7 separate regions of the Homo sapiens genome follow, and regions 1, 2, 3, 4, 5 and 7 are each linked to region 6. The links are contacts of gene promoters, found by promoter capture Hi-C in blood cells and fetal thymus (Javierre and others, 2016). All regions are on one chromosome and are shown on one strand. Each heading gives the region's core, a stretch centred on a gene start or on the middle of the fragment in contact. The rest is flanking DNA. Distances are from core to core; before and after follow the strand shown. Region 1 has its middle 35 kb from the start of SNTB1. Region 2 overlaps LOC105375730 (a long non-coding RNA gene). Region 3 has its middle 74 kb from the start of SNTB1. Region 4 has its middle 94 kb from the start of SNTB1. Region 5 overlaps DEPTOR (DEP domain containing MTOR interacting protein). Region 6 holds the start of MRPL13 (mitochondrial ribosomal protein L13). Region 7 overlaps LOC105375730 (a long non-coding RNA gene).

Evidence for each region. Contacts are between HindIII fragments. The CHiCAGO score rates a contact against its expected background, and 5 or more counts as called.
Region 1: a contact is called between a fragment that was not itself captured here and the fragment with the promoter of MRPL13 in region 6, in 7 of 17 cell types (naive CD8 T cells, non-activated CD4 T cells, total CD8 T cells and 4 more). The highest score is 8.8, in naive CD8 T cells.
Region 2: a fragment that was not itself captured here is called in contact with the fragment with the promoter of MRPL13 in region 6 in 1 of 17 cell types (erythroblasts); the score reaches 5.0 in erythroblasts.
Region 3: a contact is called between a fragment that was not itself captured here and the fragment with the promoter of MRPL13 in region 6, in 10 of 17 cell types (naive CD8 T cells, activated CD4 T cells, total CD8 T cells and 7 more). The highest score is 15.4, in naive CD8 T cells.
Region 4: a contact is called between a fragment that was not itself captured here and the fragment with the promoter of MRPL13 in region 6, in 9 of 17 cell types (naive CD8 T cells, naive CD4 T cells, total B cells and 6 more). The highest score is 10.8, in naive CD8 T cells.
Region 5: a contact is called between a fragment that was not itself captured here and the fragment with the promoter of MRPL13 in region 6, in 3 of 17 cell types (naive CD8 T cells, naive CD4 T cells and total CD4 T cells). The highest score is 6.5, in naive CD8 T cells.
Region 7: a contact is called between a fragment that was not itself captured here and the fragment with the promoter of MRPL13 in region 6, in 1 of 17 cell types (megakaryocytes). The highest score is 5.1, in megakaryocytes.

Annotation. Positions count from the first base shown.
Region 1 is chr8:120,845,417-120,848,116 of GRCh38, forward strand. No RefSeq gene overlaps it. Among named protein-coding and RNA genes, the nearest start is that of SNTB1, 35 kb to the left of the region's middle. RefSeq lists a silencer at 213-507. The HindIII fragment of the contact is 2,976 bases long and covers 1-2,700 here.
Region 2 is chr8:120,079,877-120,082,576 of GRCh38, forward strand. All of the region lies in intron 1 of LOC105375730 (a long non-coding RNA gene), which reads left to right. Among named protein-coding and RNA genes, the nearest start is that of COL14A1, 44 kb to the right of the region's middle. RefSeq lists a silencer at 2,661-2,700. The HindIII fragment of the contact is 1,645 bases long and covers 525-2,169 here.
Region 3 is chr8:120,884,757-120,887,456 of GRCh38, forward strand. No RefSeq gene overlaps it. Among named protein-coding and RNA genes, the nearest start is that of SNTB1, 74 kb to the left of the region's middle. The HindIII fragment of the contact is 5,620 bases long and covers 1-2,700 here.
Region 4 is chr8:120,904,916-120,907,615 of GRCh38, forward strand. No RefSeq gene overlaps it. Among named protein-coding and RNA genes, the nearest start is that of SNTB1, 94 kb to the left of the region's middle. The HindIII fragment of the contact is 529 bases long and covers 1,082-1,610 here.
Region 5 is chr8:119,979,692-119,982,391 of GRCh38, forward strand. All of the region lies in intron 4 of DEPTOR (DEP domain containing MTOR interacting protein), which reads left to right. Among named protein-coding and RNA genes, the nearest start is that of DEPTOR, 110 kb to the left of the region's middle. The HindIII fragment of the contact is 2,838 bases long and covers 1-2,700 here.
Region 6 is chr8:120,443,889-120,446,588 of GRCh38, forward strand. MRPL13 (mitochondrial ribosomal protein L13) reads right to left here and starts at 1,262. Exons shown (of 7, transcript NM_014078.6): 1 at 1,180-1,262. The coding sequence starts at 1,206. It overlaps MTBP (MDM2 binding protein), which reads left to right and starts at 1,531. Exons shown (of 22, transcript NM_022045.5): 1 at 1,531-1,700; 2 at 2,545-2,625. The coding sequence starts at 1,583. RefSeq lists an enhancer at 990-1,169. The HindIII fragment of the contact is 4,989 bases long and covers 1-2,700 here.
Region 7 is chr8:120,104,629-120,107,328 of GRCh38, forward strand. LOC105375730 (a long non-coding RNA gene) reads left to right here. Exons shown (of 3, transcript XR_928593.4): 2 at 955-999. Among named protein-coding and RNA genes, the nearest start is that of COL14A1, 19 kb to the right of the region's middle. The HindIII fragment of the contact is 3,772 bases long and covers 1-2,700 here.

The sequences.
Region 1 (2,700 bases), core at 10-2,509, 400 kb after region 6:
AATCATTGTTCTCAAGGTTACTTAGAGACAAAGAATACTTAAGTGATTATGACAGTCACAGTTATGGTACAAATTATGTGTACCGCACTATTGAACAGCATACACATTTATTCACAATAGCCAGCAAAATACCTGTAGTAGCTAAGATGTAGGATAAGATCAGGTTTTGGGTAAGATGAAATGGAGCTAAAATTTCAAGTTTGACACAGGTCACGTTTGGGATTATTGTTTTTGGATTATTGGAAAAGAAGTAGTACCACAGATTTGCCAGAACCTAATGTCTGCCTGGCTTAATTCAAACAGTTGGTAGTTATTGATTGCTGGGGAAAAGTGGAGAATAGAGGAATGGAAAAAGAGAGGAAGGAAAAGTAGGTGGTAAGTACAAGGTCCACTCAGCTACAGAGTCCATCTTCTTCCTGTAACACCTCACTGAACCTACTAGCCTTTATCATGCAAGTCATTGAATCTCTTGAATCTTATTAATAGTTTTTTATCTGTAAAATGGGAGTGATGGTATCTTTTTCAGCTACTTTGCAAGGTTGTTTTAAGGCTAAACAGAAAAAGATAGAACATATACAGGGTTCACTATGAGTAAGAAGTAATATAAATGTCTTTACACATTTCACAACACAGTAATGAACATGTATAAATCCAACTTGGGACTATGTGACATGATAAGTATGACACACATGCTGCATATGTGGGGGCCAAGTGAGCTGCATATGTTCAGTGAGCCTGAATGAGGCTCTCTGCAGTTTGGCAGATGGACTACACAAAGCAAAGAAAAAAAATCTGAAAAATAGAAATGGCATAATTGAATTATTCTAATGAATTAAATCAAAGTCACTCTCAGAATTGGGAAAGAGTGTCGTTAACACTGGTTCTGAACAGTTATTTGGAACCGAGTTCAACTATTGCTCTGTGGCCTTGGCCCTTTGCTTCAGTCTTTGTTTGCTTTTTTGCTCTTTTCAGTTGGTGTGTTCCTAACTTGATGACCTTGTTTCAGGCTCCGGGAAAATGCCAGTGGCCAGAAAATCACATTTGAGGGGTTGATTTGTCTCCCTTAACCTCTCTCTGCTACCTAAGACGTAATGGAACTAACATTTCAAGGTGGCCCCAGGTTAGGATTTAGATTATTACTTGGGAACAAGAGTATGGCCACGAATTTGTCAGGCAAGTACTGAACAAAATGTCCTACTCACTTAAAAGTCAAAGGTGCTTGAGAGGTTGATTTCAGCTTTTGCACGTAGGACCACTGATTTACCTTAAAAAAAAAGGAGAAAACCCCAGAAAGTTTTGGGTCCTCATATTCTTCTTGGATGTTTAATATTCTAAAGAAATTATTGAATTTGAAATTTTGTTAGTGTTTCAGGCTTTTGTTTTCATTTTTTTGCTTTTGATAGAAAAAAAATACAAGTGTCTAGGCCTGAAAATAGGGTCAATTCCTGAAATTCTTTGTAGGAGCCTCAGGTAAACTTTATTTATCTGAGTTTATCATGCTAAAATGTCCTGGCCCTAGACAAAAAATTCTTTTTGATAGTAGAGACCAAACATGTCTTGATAAAGCTGTCAAATTTGTAGACTGATTGACCTGGAGATATGATTTCCATTATTGCTTTTGATGGTTCTGGAATTTATATCAAGAGATAAGGCATTTGGCCTTGGGAGACAATTTCTATTGCTGGGGGCAGGGGATGTACATCATTGTAAGTGCATGAAATTTTATGAACCAGTTGGGTTAGTTTACTCCAAGAGTTTCATAGCCATTTATTCCCTCCTGCTCAGTGGTAGTCAGGACTGTTTTGTAGAAGTCATATATGTATGACTTTCCCACTAGAGCCTTCAGAGTCAACAGTGAACAGACATGACTTGATTCCCAGATCCTCTGTCTCCTAGCGTTAGGAATTTGGGCAAACACTTTCCCTTGGTACATCTCAGTTACTGCTGGTTTTATGAAAATAATATTGCCTACCTGGGAGGATTCAGGAAGGCATAAATGATCCTAGTGTGCCCCCCAAATTTATATGTTGAAGCCCTAAACCCCAGTGTGATAGTATTTGGAAGTGATGTCCTTGAGAGGTAATTAAGTTTAGATGAGGTGGTGAGGGTGGGGATAGGATTAATGTCCTCATTCGAAGACAAAGAGAGACCCCTGCTCTCTCGCTTTCTTCACCATATGAAGACACAGAAAGAAGCTGGCCTTTTATAAGCCAGGAGGAGATCCCTAACCAGGAGTCAAATTGGTTGCCACCTTGATGTTGAGCTTTGCAGACTCCAGATTAGAAATAAATGTCTATTATTTAAGCCACCCAGTCTGAGGCATTTTATTACAGTAGTGCGAGCTGAGACACTAGTACAAGTGCCTGGCACTTTACTATTATTTATAAACATCCTCCAAAAGGATTGATTATACAGTATTTACAAATCTTTGTTTTGATTTGAAACTTTTACAGTTTGTAAAGTATTAACATTTTGTGTGTTAAGATCTCGAGGCAAGTATTAAAATTTCTCACTTTAAAGATGAGGAAACTGAAGCAAAGAGATAGAAAATGAATTTTTCAAAAGTCACACTGTAAATCATGGCAAAACTGGAAATCTATTTTAGCTGAAGATTATTCCTTATTGCCTAGTATAGGGCTTGGCTTTTAGTAGGTCTTAATGTTTTTGTTGAATAAATGACTGAATGGAAGTCCTTAAAAA
Region 2 (2,700 bases), core at 97-2,596, 360 kb before region 6:
TTCCTGACTATACCGGGTAACAAAAGCTCTTACCACAAGATGATGGATTCAAAATTATTAGTTGGCTCTATTTCCATGTGAAGGAAATGAGACTTTGTGAAACTGTCATGGAGAATACCACCAAAGTGTCACAGCTGATAGCTTAGATATGTTAACTTAGATACATTAAGATAACTTAGATACAATAACGAAGACACATTACTGGAACTTAGAACAGTGTTCTTCTACCTGCGTCCCTACCTCACTCCTTCTGGTTGCAGAGCAAAAAAACAAAAACAAAAAAAAGCAAAACCCAACAATCTTTGAGACAATGCAATAATTAAACAGGGAATATACAGTTGAATGTAGGTTTATAAAGATAGAAGGAATGTTAAAATTCTCAGCAAATTTAACAATTCAGTTCCAGAGAACTTGCCATGACCTATGATACATGAATACAAGAATTAAAAATGGTGTCACCAAGAGCTTTGGCTCTATATGAAAAATATTGAAGCAAAAAAAAAAAAGGAGATCTAAAATCTGGAAGCTTCTCCCATCCAGCCTGCAGCTTGGGGTTGTCTTTGTGCCGACAGCTGCCCAGTAAGTCAGAAGATACCTGAAGGCTTGGATCTCCCTGTTGCCATGTTGTTTACTCAGGAAAAGCCCCAGCCAAGAGTCACATCTTTTAAGAACTGTGAAAAAAAGCAAGTAATCTGTCTTACCTATTTAATGGTGAGAAACACTGAAAAGATTGATAGGAATGCCCCTCTTCTGCTGAATCCAACTCTGCAAACTGGTTGGAGAGCTGAAAGGGAAGTGTGAAGAAGAGAAAGAGGGAAGGAAGGGCAGATTTGGGAACTGGTGGATCGCTGTTGTATGTGGATTCTGTGTATGAACAATAGTCCTTCTGCAATGAGAAGACTGGTTACAAGAATCCCAGTGGTCCTGAAATTTTTTTTGTTGCTATTTTCTGTTTTTTTTTTTTTTTTTTTTTAAGAGGTGGTAAACTCAAATGCCATGTTGGCATGTGGGTATGGAAATGTGTGCAGAGGCAGGGGATAAGGCGATGGTGAGTAGAGGGACTGTGGTTAGCTGCAGACAGCGTGCTCCTCCTAAAGCATTCAAATTCACAACAGTGTTTTTTGTTAAAACAAAATAGAACCAAACCACTGCCCTAATGAAACAAACACTTCTGCAGGCCCGATGATCCCCTTAACTCACACCTTTGTAATCCCAGATCGAAAGGATCAGAAGCTGGCAGAAGCTGTGCCTCTGCATCTTCTAAAAGTCACAATTCGTCCATAGAGTACTGCTTTTTGTTTTGTTTGTTTGTTTGTTTGAGGCAGAGTTTCGCCCTTGTCGCCCAGGCTGGAGTGCAATGGCACGATCTTGGCTCACTGCAACCTCTGCCTCCCAGGTTTAAGCAATTCTCCTGCCTCAGCCTCCCGAGTAGCTGGGATCACAGGCATGCACCACCACACCCAGCAAATTTTTGTATTTTTAGTAGAGAGGAGGTTTCACCATGTTGGCCAGCCTAGTCTTGAACTCCTGACTTCAGATGATCCACCCACCTCAGCCTCCCAAAGTGCTGGGATTACAGGCATCAGCCACCACAACTGGCCTGTTTTTTTGTTTTGTTTTGTTTTGTTTTGTTTTGTTTTGAGACAAATTCTCACTCTGCCACCCAGTCTGGAGTGCAGTGGTGTGATTGCAGTTCGCTGCAACCTCTACCTCCCGAGCTCAAGGGATTCTTCTACCTCACCCTCCCAAATAGCTGGGACTATAGGTGTGCGCCACCACACCCGCCTAATTTTTGTAGTTTTAGTAGAGATGAGTTTTGCCATGTTGGCCAGGCTGATCTGGAACTCCTGGCCTCAAGTGATCTGCTTGCCTTGGCCTCCCAAAGTGTTGGGATTATAGGTGTGAGCCACAGTGCCTGGCCTGAATGCTGTTTTACTAATAATTTGCCACCTTATTTGTAAGTACAGTCTTGATTAGATAATTTACCAAAGAACATTGATAATTCTTCCTAGAAATAAAGGTAGAGGGAATCATATTATTTACATACAGGCTTGGCTATTTAGTAGGCTAGGGTTTAGAATCTGTGCCCATACATTTTAATGAAGTATAATTTTGTGTTGATTACTTCTATCTAGATAGGAAGATATGTTGCTTTCTAGAGTTTATGTAAGCTTTGTCTCTTTAAGGAGGCTAATACCATTAAGCTAATAATAATAACGGGTAACATTTATTGACCTTCCTATGTGTCAGACACCATATACTTTACATGGAATATCTTGTTGTGTCTCATTTAATTCTTGCAACAACCCTCTAAGGCAGGTAGTGTTGCTATCCTCATTATACAGATGAGAATGCCAAGGCACAGATAGGTTAAGGAACTTTCCTAAAGTCACCCTGTAAGTGGCAGAGATGGAGTTTGAATTCAGGAGGTGTGGCCGAGTTAGCAGTCATAAATCTAACTAACTAAGTAACTAACTAACTAACAAACAAACATCAAAATCTCTTGTCCACTCACGGGACTCCTTTACCAAGTCTCTTGAATTCTTGCCTAGGCCAGTGGAGAGAGTTATCCCAGAGCCTCAGACCTGCAGGCACACCGACTCCCACTGCCTTGCAGAAAGAGGTTCAGGAGCAGTGTTTTTGGTAGTCGCTTGAACTATTTCTTCTGGGAACATCATTATCTCTGTTGTGATTCCTCAG
Region 3 (2,700 bases), core at 11-2,510, 440 kb after region 6:
GGATGTATTTTGAAACAATTAAAAACTCAAGTGAGTTGATTAGAACTTTATTTTGGCTGTTCATGGTATTTAGGGACTCTTTTTCCCTATTGAATCATACTGTGTATAATTGCATAAAAACACAGCAGGAGATAGATGTTTTTGAAAAAAATTCAGAAGCCAAATTGGAAAGGCAGCCCTCATGATTCACATCCTTCTGACTTTATCAGTAATTATTTTGCAAGCATTTCCACTCAGTTTGAAACTTCATAGAAGTCACCATTTTTTTTTCTGGGTATCATAGAACTATGCACTGGAAAATATGAATGGAGGAGGATTTTTGAGTTGTTGCATAAAAATTGGAAGATTATGAGACCTGAAAATATCCCTTTTTAGTTTACAATCGTCTATTTGCTTCTACATTAAAAAAAAACTTAGGATGTAATATGTACACAATTTGGATAATGGTATACAATGAAAAAAGTACTATACTACCTGGAAGGAAATTTGAGTTTTAACCCAAGATTTATTCAATAGGAAGCTGTGTAACTTTAGCTAGATTATATTACTTCTCTGGTCTTCAATATCACAATGCACAAAATGAAAGAGATGGAATAGACAGTGTTTATAGCCCTTTTCCAAACCCAATATTTAGCTCTATTATTTTCTGGGTGGGAAGAGAGATATCTTAGTGATTAATTTTTGCATAAGTAACCAAATTAACAACAAATCTGGCATTTTCCATTGAATATTCATGAATAACAGGAGGTATTGGGCAGAGAGATAATATCTTTTACTGTCTATCTACTGTTCTATATTTTTGACTTAAAGAGAGGAAGGAAAATGTCCTGAATTTTCATGTTGACTCTTAGGCTGGAGGTGTATACTTCATGTATCAGGTGGCTGAAATTTTAGTTGTGCATGAAAAATGCATTCCATTTCTTGAATGTTTAATATCATTTTCATAGCCAACAAGCAGAATGGACTATGACAGCTATTTTTCTCTGCTCAGCATATTTTGTAGCCCTGTTTCTGGTTTCTGGAGGAAATCCTAACCCACTACTTGTAGTTCTGATGGAGCTGTCAATCATAGTGTCTGCTCCCCTACCTAAATCCACGCATTGAAAAGCAGGTGACTGAGCTAGGCCAGTTAAAGCCCACTCTGGGACAAAATTTTCTGCTGCAGTTGGAGGGAAAGATTCTCTCTTCCCTTTGAATCTCAAGTTAAAATTTGTAGAGCTGACCTTGCCAGTGGCCATCATTCCCAGCAGGTGGAAGTATCTTGCCTGCAAGAAGACGGAGTCAGGCAGACCAAGAAAGAGAATTATGGCTAGCCAGTTTTCCCAGCACCATTTATTAAATAGGGAATCCTTTCCCCATTGCTTGTTTTTGTCAGGTTTGTCAAAGATCAGATAGTTGTAGATATGCGGCGTTATTTCTGAGGGCTCTGTTATGTTCCATTGATCTATATCTCTGTTTTGGTACCAGTACCATGCTATTTTGGTTACTGTAGCCTTGTAGTATAGTTTGAAGTCAGGTAGCGTGATGCCTCCAGCTTTGTTCTTTTGGCTTAGGATTGACTTGGCGATGCAGGCTCTTTTTTGGTTCCATATGAACTTGAAAGTAGTTTTTTCCAATTCTGTGAAGAAAGTCATTGGTAGCTTGATGGGGATGGCATTGAATCTATAAATTACCTTGGGCAGTATGGCCATTTTCACGATATTGATTCTTCCTACCCATGAGCATGGAATGTTCTTCCATTTGTTTGTATCCTCTTTTATTTCCTTGAGCAGTGGTTTGTAGTTCTCCTTGAAGAGGTCCTTCACGTCCCTTGTAAGTTGGATTCCTAGGTATTTTATTCTCTTTGAAGCAATTGTGAATGGGAGTTCACTCATGATTTGGCTCTCTGTTTGTCTGTTATTGGTGTATAAGAATGCTTGTGATTTTTGTACATTTATTTTGTATCCTGAGACTTTGCTGAAGTTGCTTATCAGCTTAAGGAGATTTTGGGCTGAGACAATGGGGTTTTCTAGATATACTATCATGTCATCTGCAAACAGGGACAGTTTGACTTCCTCTTTTCCTAATTGAATACCCTTTATTTCCTTCTCCTGCCTAATTGCCCTGGCCAGAAGTTCCAACACTATGTTGAATAGGAGTGGTGAGAGAGGGCATCCCTGTCTTGTGCCAGTTTTCAAAGGGAATGCTTCCAGTTTTTGCCCATTCAGTATGATATTGGCTGTGGGTTTGTCATAGATAGCTCTTACTATTTTGAGATATGTCCCATCAATACCCAATTTATTGAAAGTTTTTAGCATGAACCATTGTTGAATTTTGTCAAAGGCCTTTTCTGCATCTATTGAGATAATCATGTGGTTTTTGTCTTTAGTTCTGTTTATATGCTGGATTACATTTATTGATTTGCATATATGGAACCAGCCTTGCATCCCAGGGATGAAGCCCACTTGATCATGGTGGATAAACTTTTTGATGTGCTGCTGGATTCGGTTTGCCAGTATTTTATTTAGGACAGCTGAAACTGGATCCCTTCCTTACACCTTATACAAAAATTAATTCAAGATGGATTAAAGACTTAAACGTTAGACCTAAAACTATAAAAACCCTAGAAGAAAACCTAGGCGTTACCATTCAGGACATAGGCATGGACAAGGACTTCATGTCTAAAACACCAAAAGCAATGGCAACAAAAGCCAAAATTGA
Region 4 (2,700 bases), core at 96-2,595, 460 kb after region 6:
GACTCACCTAGTGCTGTGATGCAGAGGTAGGTATTATCTTGAAATGATACATTTCTATATTCCACAAGGTACAGTCCTAATCATTAGGTGACACACTGTGAAGATGAATCTTTCTTCTAAATAACCAGCCATTGGAGTAAGCAGAAGACCTTGCCACTGAATGACATAAGACTCTTTTGCACTTGTGGTTTACTTTTTATTTAACATTCCACACTTCATACTCTTTGTGCATCAGATTATCCACAGTTTACAGTATCTGGAAACCAAATCAAACCCTTCTAACTCCATCTGTCATCAGTCTCTTTAGCAATAATAGTTGATAAGTGCCCTGTTGATCACCTTTTTGGAGAAGTTCTGAGAACCGTATATTTTTGCTTTTTGAGAAAATAGTTCAAACATCCTTCTGCTTATAGCTTAAAAATGGATTATAAAAGGTATATTAGCTTGTCAATTTCAACTAATACAAGAGATGGAGACAATTACTGTTACTTAAATCTAATTGGACACCTTATCAGTGACTATAAAATAGACGTATATTTGCCTACCATATTGAGAGAGCAGCAGCTGAAATGGCCTGGTAGGGTAGCTGGCCTCTACCTTGAATAATCATTGTTCTTCCCACCGTGTCCTAAAGCCAGTCAAGGAGGTATATTGCCAACTGCAAACTTGATTGTTACTTCTATATCTTAATAGAGAACATTACTCCTATCAAAGGTGCTTAAAGGAAAACTATAGATTCTTGTTCCAAGCAAGCAAAGTTCTTACATGCAAAAACTTTGGAGACACAATGACCGAGGCTCTAATCCTATCTCAAAATTTGGGGCAATTGTAACCTCTCTAAATCTTAGTTCCTCATCCTAATGTGAAGCTAAACATAACTTGCAAATAAATAACTCATTATATAACTGATATCTTCTCCTCCATCCCTGCCTTGGTCAAGGATTGGCTCACTCAACACAGATTCTCAAATACCTTCTTTGCTTTTCTCTAACATAGGGGATAGAGGATGAAGTACTCATTTTTCTCAGAAGCAGCCTAGCCAGCAGTGGTGATATGCCACAGCTCTGCCCAGTGATATATAAGCTTACTTCTGATGAGAGGAGTTTTCATTAAGTATAAGGGTTTGGACCCTCCTCCCTTCCTCTTGCTTGAAAAGCAAGTGTGATAATTAAAGGTGCAATAGATCTCCAGCCACCGTGAAGAAAAAGTCATGTGATAGGATGGTGGGGCAAGAAGATAGAAAGAGCCTGGCCCCTGACCACATCATTGAGTAGACATTCAAAGGTATTGGGCAGGAAAAAAATAAAGCAACAACTTTAATTCAGGAAAACTTTTCTCATCTTTCAGAAATTAGTTTTCTTCCTATTAACATGACATTGAATTCATTTCTTATAAAATAGTAATCTAGTTTTGCTATCCTACGAAAGAATGTGCTCTCTAATTGCCTTGAGTGAATTATATTTCAGGATGATTTAATGCTAGAAGTATCATGTGGTTCAACTTTAAGTATTTAACAGAGTCAATACTCAGACTCAAGTCTTTCTGATTCTGATGCCCCTGTCACTAATCACTGCACTCACGTGGTGCCCCAATGCCAGCTACTCAGCAAAAGCTTAAAGAAAGTAAAAGTTGTTGATTGATTAATTAAATAGCCCCTCTCTACTTATACATTAAAACTCCTCTTTCAACACAATCTCATACTGACACTGAAATTAAAGGTTTCCATTAGCTGACTTTCCTCTCTATAGACGTGAGAACTGAATGGAGAGATAGTTGAAATAAATTTTGTGTGGCATTGGCCTTGAAGGGACTGATAAAGGGCGCATACTGAAGTTCTTTGGCTGGGCCCTGTGGGATGCACACTTGTGGCCTTGGAGGCATGGCACTGCAGAAGCACTTAGAGGAAACTGCCAAGTGCACGTGCAGCAGGAATGAGCCTGCGCCTCTGATCGTCACGCTTAGCTTCATGTTTGCAGTCCTTTTAGGGGGATGCTAGCAGAGACAGCAAATTCCACATTAATCCACTATTTAAGAACAGAACAGATATTGTTTGGCATTAGCCAATAAGATCTGGTGACTCATAAATGGGTCACAGACATTGCCTTTTGCCCAAGTTCATGGCCAAAAACATACTGGGCATTGTGTCCAAAATGTGATTAAACTAGTACCAGCTCAGATAGCTTACAACCTAGATTAAATGGCTTAGTAAAACACTGTTCACTGGAAACAGAATCTAGGCTTCCCCCTGAAGTACTTGTTTCAGACATGGAATGTTTGGGACAGCTATTCATTTTCTGTTAAATGCTCTGTTGCCTATTTCCAATAACATAATGAAGAAAGCCCCAAGAAGGCATTACTGGTTGTAATTTGAAAATCAAGATAATATTATGTACTCATGGTTAAAATTTATAGAGTATTCAAAGATGAAAAGCAAAAAATAAAATTCCCCTGATCTCATAGTCTAACACCCTAGAAGGTGTCACTGTTTATATTTTCTTGACTACTGTGCAGAAATCTTCTGTGAATGACAAACATATTGTATGGGTTGAATTGTGTCCCCACAAACGATGTGTTGAAGCCCTAACCCCTAGTACCTTAGCATGTGACCTTATTTGGAAATAAGGTCTTTACAGAGATAATTTAAAATGAGCTCATTAGGGTGAATTCTAATCCACTATAATGAGTATTCTTATAAAAAGG
Region 5 (2,700 bases), core at 58-2,557, 460 kb before region 6:
AAATTTTATTTTAGCCACTCCCCAAGCTGTCCCAGGTTTTGGTCATATTGGCAGTTGGCAAAGCCTCCAGGCCACTGGGGAAGGGGTGGGTGTTGGTTTTGCCCCACTGGCTCACTCCTGTGACTCTGAAATCCTTCTTGGTGCTGAAATCATAACCTCAATGGGGGATTCCTCTTAAGTGGGAACAAAATGTGCTTCCTCATCAAAATAAGGGAAATGGGATGGGGGAGATAGTGTGAGAAAAACTGGAAAAACTCTTGATCATTTGCTTGTTCAGGACAAGGATCATCTTCTATGGCAAATGGCTTTCAAAGTACTGTACCCAATGAAAGGGGTGAACTTGTTTGTTGGTTGGCTGTTCTGTTCTTGTGGGAAATCAGCCACCAGACCAGGGCTACCCAATGAAAATATGCTAGGAGCCACCAAGACAATCTACATATGTGATTTTAAATTTTCTAGTAGAAATAGCAAAAAAAAAAAAAGGAGGAATGGGTTAAATTAATCTTCATAATATACTTTAACTCGCCATCTCCAAAATATTATCATTTAAAAATGCAATCTATATGAAAAATACAAATTAGCTACTTTACATTTTGTTATACTAAGTCTTCAAAATCCAGTGTGTTTTTTCATTTTAATCAGACTCACATTTCAAGGCTCACGTGGCTAGTGGCTGCCATCTTGGAGAACACAGCTCTAGGCCGTTTTGAAACCAGCAGAGGGCAGCATGGTGTCCTGACCTGTGTGCATTTCATTTTTCTTTTTTCTTTTCTTTTCTTTTCTTTTCTTTTCTTTTCTTTTCTTTTCTTTTCTTTTCTTTTCTCTCTTTGTGTTTTTTTTTTGGAGATGGAGTTTTGTTCTTGTTGCCCAGGCTGGAGTGCAATGGTACAATCTCGGCTCACTGCAACCTCCGCCTCCTGTGTTCAAGCAACTCTCCTGCCTCAGCCTCCCAAGCAGCTGGGATTACAGGCATGTGCCACCACAGCCTGCTAATTTTTGTATTTTTAACAGAGACAGGGTTTCACCATCTTGGCCAGGCTGGTCTCGAACTCCTGACCTCAGGTGATCCACCCGCCTCGGCCTTCCAAAGTGCTGGGATTACAGGTGTGAGCCACTGTGCCCAGCCGCATTTCATTTTTCAGTCCCTTATCTCTGTGATCTTTGTTCCTCTATGTCTGAGATTTCTGATATCTGTATTTTTACAGTGCCAGTTTGGACATCCATATAAAGTGGGTACCAGCCACATAGGTAACAACAAATGTTCTCCCTTCCCCAGCACCATGATTTCACAATCCTATTTTCTTTCTCTCTCAGTTTTTGATGAGGAAGCTAAAGCCCAAAGGTATTAGGAAGTCACCCAAAGAAAACACAGTAAATGGCATGAGGAAAATAGAACTATAGTGTCTGACTCCAGAATCCAAGTTCCAAACAACTGTTCTATGGCCTCCATGAGAAACAATTCCTGTGCTTGTTTAACAGGTTCTCCTAAAGAATCGAAACAATGTCCATCAAACTGTTAATGTATGGCTTCCAAACTGAATTAACACCAAATTCTACACTACCAATTATATTTTAGGGGGAGTCTATTCAGGTCAATTTGCAGCTTAAATTTTCTACTTTTTCTTTCCACTCCGTTTTTACTTTACCTTTGATTTTTTAATATTTCCAGAAGTCAAAAATGTAGGATGGGCACAGTGGCTCACGCCTGTATTCCCAGCACTTTGGGAGGCCGAGGCAGGCAATCGTTTGAGGCCAGGAATTCAAGACAAGCCTGGGCAACACAGTGAAACTCCATCTCTACAAAATATCAAAATAATTAGCCAGGTGTGGTGGTGCACACCTGTAGTTCCAACTACTAAGGAAGCTGAGATGAGAGGATCACTTGAGCCTGGAAAAGTCAAAGCTGCAGAGAGCAGTGATTGTGCCACTGCACTCCAAGCAACAGAGCAAGACCCTATCTCAAAAAAAAAAAAAAAATGTAGTTGGCTATTATTATTTAGACTGGACTTGATTTTGGCAATTCTCTTAAATTCCTAGTCTTCAGGCTGGGCGTGATGGCTCATGCCTGTAATCCCAGCACTTTGGGAAGCCAAGGCAGGCGAATCACAAGGTCAGGAGTTTGAGACCAGCCTGGCCAACATGGTGAAACCTCGTTCTACTAAAAATACAAAAAATTAGCTGGGAGTGGTGGCGGGCGCCTGTAATCCCAGCTACTCAGGAGGCTGAGGCAGGAGAATCACTTGACCTGGGAGGCAGATGTTGCAGTGAGCCAAGATCATGCCACTGCACTCTAGCCCAGTCGACAGTGTGAGATTCCATCTCTAAAAAAAAAAAAAAAAAAAAAAAAAATTCTAGTTTTCATTGTGGGGGTCCTTTGGAGTTTTACTGACAGCAGAACAATATTATTAATGCTATATTAGCATTATGGAGACCATGTCTTTCAGGGAGAGATTGGTTTCTACATATTTATTACTTTCACTTGCTTTGGATAAAAGAATACAGTATCGTAATTTCTCTTCCACAGATGGAAAAATTGAGGCCTAAGGACTGAACATAACATAACTGAACATTCCCCTGTTCTGTTGCAGGGGAATCTGAGCCACATTGCTAGAAGCCATGTCTTCTGACAGCTTGACTTCCTGTCTAAGCAGCTTCGTGGCTTCTGAGTCAAGCATAGTTTCTTACACGATATGGGCTTCA
Region 6 (2,700 bases), core at 12-2,511:
TAGGTTGCCTCAGGAATAGAGCATTGTTTTTACAGTCGTCATCAATGTATTCAAATTCTTAGAAAATTCTAGGCCAGAAAGATCTCCACCAGATGCTTTCTCTATGCATATACACAAGAGGCTAAACAATGCTGGAAAAATAGAACGAGGCTAGCTGGTCTTATTTTAAATTTACTTATCACAACCTCAAACTAGTCTACATATAAGAAAAAGGCCAGTTTTTGTCCCCATCCATTGTAGACTAATAGTTTGATACTTAGAAAAAAAAAATTTTTAATGAAAAAAATACAAATGCTGGGCGATGTCAGATTGCTGAAAAAGGTTTTAAAATTTTTATTTTACTTCCTGTATTTATCTCATCACAGACAGGCAACAAACAGCCCAAGGAAGGAACCATACTTGGAGCGGCACTGAGTTGAGAGTCATCTTAGACCGATATAACCCAAACTAACTCCTATTCTTCCACCTGAAACCTGGTTCAATCTCAGCCTTCCCTATCTCAGTTGATGACACACCCTCCAGTTGGACAAACCAAAAAACCTTGGGGTAATCCTTGTTTCTTCTTTTGCTGTTGGCCTATACTCAATATTCAGGAAGTCCTACTGGCTCCACCTTCAAACAAAACCTGACCACTTTCAACACACTCCATAGTATTTCTAGCGTGGCCTCTGCACCATCACGTCTCGCCTGGATTACTGTAACACCCTCCAAACATATTCTTTGCTTCTGTCCTCTACTAACCCCTATTTCTGAACAGTCTATTCTCGACCCAGCAGCCAGAGTGCTCCTTTTGACACCAGGTCAGATCCTGTTACTCCGTGGATCAAAACCCTCCAAAAGGTCCCCATTTTACTCAGTCAAAAAACAAATTATTGCAAGGGCCTACAATGCCCTATGTGATCCACCTTATTACCTCTCCGATCTGCTCTAATCCTCTTCCCCCCGCCCCCCCAAGAAAGACATGAAAAGGGCAGATTGAAAAGAAGAGGGGACGAGTAACAGACGAACGACATTAAGTGCTTGCCAGACTGACGACCCTCTTGTGCTTTCCCAAGTCACCTCTTGGCCGAGGGTCTCGGCTTCCCTGCCGCCCCAGCTTCACTACTTAATCTGCCGGAACCAACGCTCTCCTTCTGCCAGTATAATGAACCCCATCAAGCCATAAGAGTCCGAGCTCACCTGGGGCGCCCTAGAGAAACTCGACATATTCCTCTACTAGCAGGACCGTACGTCCTTCTCCTAGTAGCCACGCCGGGTCACTCAGCCTTACTGGCCCGGCGGGAAACGCTAACACCCAAGCAGGACAGTTCCTAGCCCGTCGAGCACTTGTCGGCTTCTCCCTCTTCCTCGAGTTTCCTCCAGTCTTCTCCACGGCAGCAATTTCGTCATGAAAGGAGCATATAATGCAGTTATTTAGGGAATAACTCCCAAAAATATCTCGCTTGGTGGAAAAACTGCGGAAAACCGACGGAGGACATAATTTCCAGCCGACCTAAACGAAGGGAACCGGAAATGCGTCATAGCGCGCGTCTGTTTGGATGTGGAAGCCGAGACCTAAAGTTGGGGGGTGATCTCTGAGGAGATGGATCGGTACCTGCTGCTGGTGATCTGGGGGGAAGGAAAATTCCCGTCGGCGGCCAGTAGGGAGGCAGAACATGGGCCAGAGGTGTCGTCGGGTGAGGGTACTGAGAATCAGCCGGGTAAGCGCTGGGATGAGAAAGAGCGGGAACGGCTTGTGGAGAGGGGAAGAAGTTTGAGTTTTGTGATCAAGTTCTGCTGAAGAGGGATCAATATGTAGTTGTCCCACGAAGCTGGGACTCTATCTGGGATAGAGTTAATGAGGGCTGCAAAAATAGCATCTTCATGGAAAAACAGGGACAAATTTGTGGATGCAAGATTCCAGCCCTTAGAAGTTCTTGGCATAGTAAATGTTTAACTTAATAAATTTTCTATGCCTTAGTAATGGAATTTCCTGCTTTTTGGAAATATATGCATTTATTATTTCTGCTCCTGTGTTTCACATGCAAATAATACGGAAAGGAGCAAGATGGACAAAGATCTTGCTGTCCTACAATTTACATCTAATGGGAGGAGACATCCCACATATAACCTAAGTTTTAAAAACAAATGATGAATTTTAAATGATTTTAATTGTTTGCGATTGCACTGCTTTTTGGTGCACCCGTCTAGATTCAATATTGCATTTTATGTGTTCATTTGTTTCGATCAAACAGGCATTTTGAGGAGTAAATGTATGTGGTTGTGTATAAGGTATTGTCACAGAATTTCCCTTCTCTTTAAAATTATTCTTTTGAGGGGAATTTTGCATTCGTGCTAACTGACTGGCATGTACAGATCGGGAGCCTTTTCTATTTTCTCTGATTGCTTTAGATTTTCTGTATCAAAACTTGAACAGATCTTGAGCAGCGTTTAGTACTTTTATGTACAACCTACTGGTCTTGAGAGTCTCTGATGGTGAAATTGGACTAAGTTAGATTATGTAAATCTAGAGCCCTTTGAGTTAGTCTATCTTTTCTTTTTCAGACTTCACAGCAGCAAATGTTTATCACCTCTTGAAAAGAAGCATTAGTGCTTCAATTAATCCAGAAGATAGTACTTTCCCTGGTAAGTATAATAAACTCCTCTTTTCTCTGGCACAGCATTTGTACTGGAAATTAACTTAATTAATTTGGACCCTAA
Region 7 (2,700 bases), core at 98-2,597, 340 kb before region 6:
TGATGAAACCACATATCTACTAAAAATGAAAAAATTAGCTGGGCATGGTGGCCAGCGCTTGTAATCTCAGCTACTCAAGAGGCTGAAGCAAGAGAATGGCTTGAACTTGGGAGGCAGAGGTTGCAGTGAGCTGAGATCGTGCCACTGCACTCCAGCCTGGGTGACAGAGTGAGACTCTGTCTCAAAATCAATCAGTCAATCAATCAATCGTGGAAATCATTTTATATCAGTTCATATAGGTTTTCCTTATTGTTTTTAAAAAAAGATGCACAGTATTCTATTGCAAGGATCTATCATTCATGCAATCAATTTTCTATATAGGAATTTTTGAGTTGTTTCCAGTATTTTGGCAATTACAAATAATGTCTTAATAAATAACATTTTATGTATTTATTTTCGTATTGTTGAAAGTAAACTTCAGGGCAAATTCCCAGAAGTCGGGTTGCTGGGTCAAAGCGTAAAATGTGTATCGAGTTTTGTTAGATGTTGCCAAATTTCAATCCACGGAGACTGCATCATTTTGCACACCCATCACCAATATATGAGTGCTCATTACCCTACAGAGTATATCATCGTACATACTAATTTTGATCACTTGGATAGATGTGAAATGTTTTACTCTTTTTCATTTGGATTTAATTATGAATGAGATAGAAGATCTCTTCATAGGTGTAAGGACATTTTGTATCTTTTTAGGGGTGTATTGTCTACATCATATATTTTGCCCATTTATCTATAAGGTTTTGGTCCTTCTTTAATCTTGATGTTTACAAGTTATTTACATATTAATGATATTAGTTCTTTATCTGCAATGTGTGTTGAAAATATTTTCTCCCAGTTCATCATTTGTCTATGTTTTTGTTTACAGAGTTTTGTGTCATTCAAAAGTTCTTTAAAAATTTTAAAAATTTTTATAGAGTTGAGTTCATGAATCTTTTCTTTTATTGTCTCTAGATTTTTAGACATATTTTGAAAGTCTTTCATCACCAGATTTCAAAGGTATTTATCTATGTTTTCTTCTAATACTTGCATGGCTTCAGTTTTATAATGAGTTTTCTAATCCATTGGGGTTTTCTTTCTTGTGTAGACTGTGAGGATACAATATTATCATCTATATGGCTTTTCAATTGTCATAACCTAACATCATTTACTAAAAGTCTATCTTGGTCCCAGTAATTAGAGATGTCAACTTTATCATGCATTATATTTCCATATATACTTGTGTCTTCTAGTCTATTCCACTAAGTAATCTGTCTATTCATGAACTAGTACAATAATCTTGTAATTATAATGGCTTTCTGATATATTTGAGTATGACAGAGATTTCTGCCTCCACCTGTCCCTCGATAGCTCTTTATTTTTTTCAGTGTTTTCCCGACTATTCATGCATGTTTATTTTTTTCATATAAATTTTAGTATTAAATTATCTCATTTTAAGATAATCAAATCTTTTTGGCATTTTTATTGGGGCTTTATTAAATCTGAAAATTAACTTATGGAGTACTGACATTTTTATGACATTGAGTCATTCTCTACCTATTTGTTTAAGTTCGCAAGTTAAGTTTTTGGAAGTGTTTTAACATTTCCCTTATGTAGATTTTAAAATTTTCTTAAGGCTATTTCTATTGTAATTGCTATTGTAAATGGGATTCACTCTTCCATTGTTTGTGTATATATGATGGATACTCTATTGATTGTTGTATATTCATTTTATATCTTGCTATCTTTCTGATTTGTAAATCATATGTTTTATTATTGATTCTCTAGATCCATTGAATTTTTATTTTTTTAAATACTAGGTTTTTCTTTTCTAGAAACTCTTTTTTCTTCCAAATATATACCGTTATTTTAATAATCTTTTATTCTTACTCATATTTTCAATTCTCTCTCTTCTTTAAATATTTTAAACATAACTTATTGCATGCTTATTAATCGTCTTACCTAAGGTCTTTGTATATATGAGTCTATTGTCTACTTGTTTTATTTCTGCTGGCTATTGCTTACAGTGTCTTACTTCCTTATGTGGTTTTGTGATTTTTTAAAAAATCATGTATTTGTATATCTTGGAACACTATCCGTGGAATTGTTCAAGGCCTATGTTTAAAGTGAGCTCCTCTAGAAAGGACTGAATTTGCTTTTGCTAGGTGTTTAGGACCAATATCAACCTGGAACCAATTTAAAATAATTCTTAGCCATGAGCTGTTGAAATTCACACACATCATATGAATTCAGGCTACAAACCTGGATGAAGGCTGTGTTAGGGCTGTACATCTCAGAAGGAAATCTCTCCTCACTTATTTAGCCAGGTCCAAGATTAAAAATAAATGAATACATCATTTACTGTTTGCTCTGAGAGCAGGTTTATTTCTGGATCTCACTTTCATGGAAGGTACAACTGTTTACGTTACCAGCTTTCTGTAAGGATCTCCTGGAAAAATTCCTCTTTAGGGGGACCTAGCCTTGAGCTTGAGAGGCTGTCACAGCAAAACTCAGTCTCCAGGGTTTGGCAGATGCCCCAGGACAAAAGCATGCCTGAGTGTTTGTGCACCTTTCTGGATTCCCAGGAGACTTTTATTAATTTTTGACCTTTATGGATTTTTAAAAACTTTCTCACTAGGTTAACAATACATTTAGAAAGCGCCTATTTAAATATGTTATATAGCTTTTTGGTTGTTTCAGTGGAGAAGTTGTTAAGAGTGT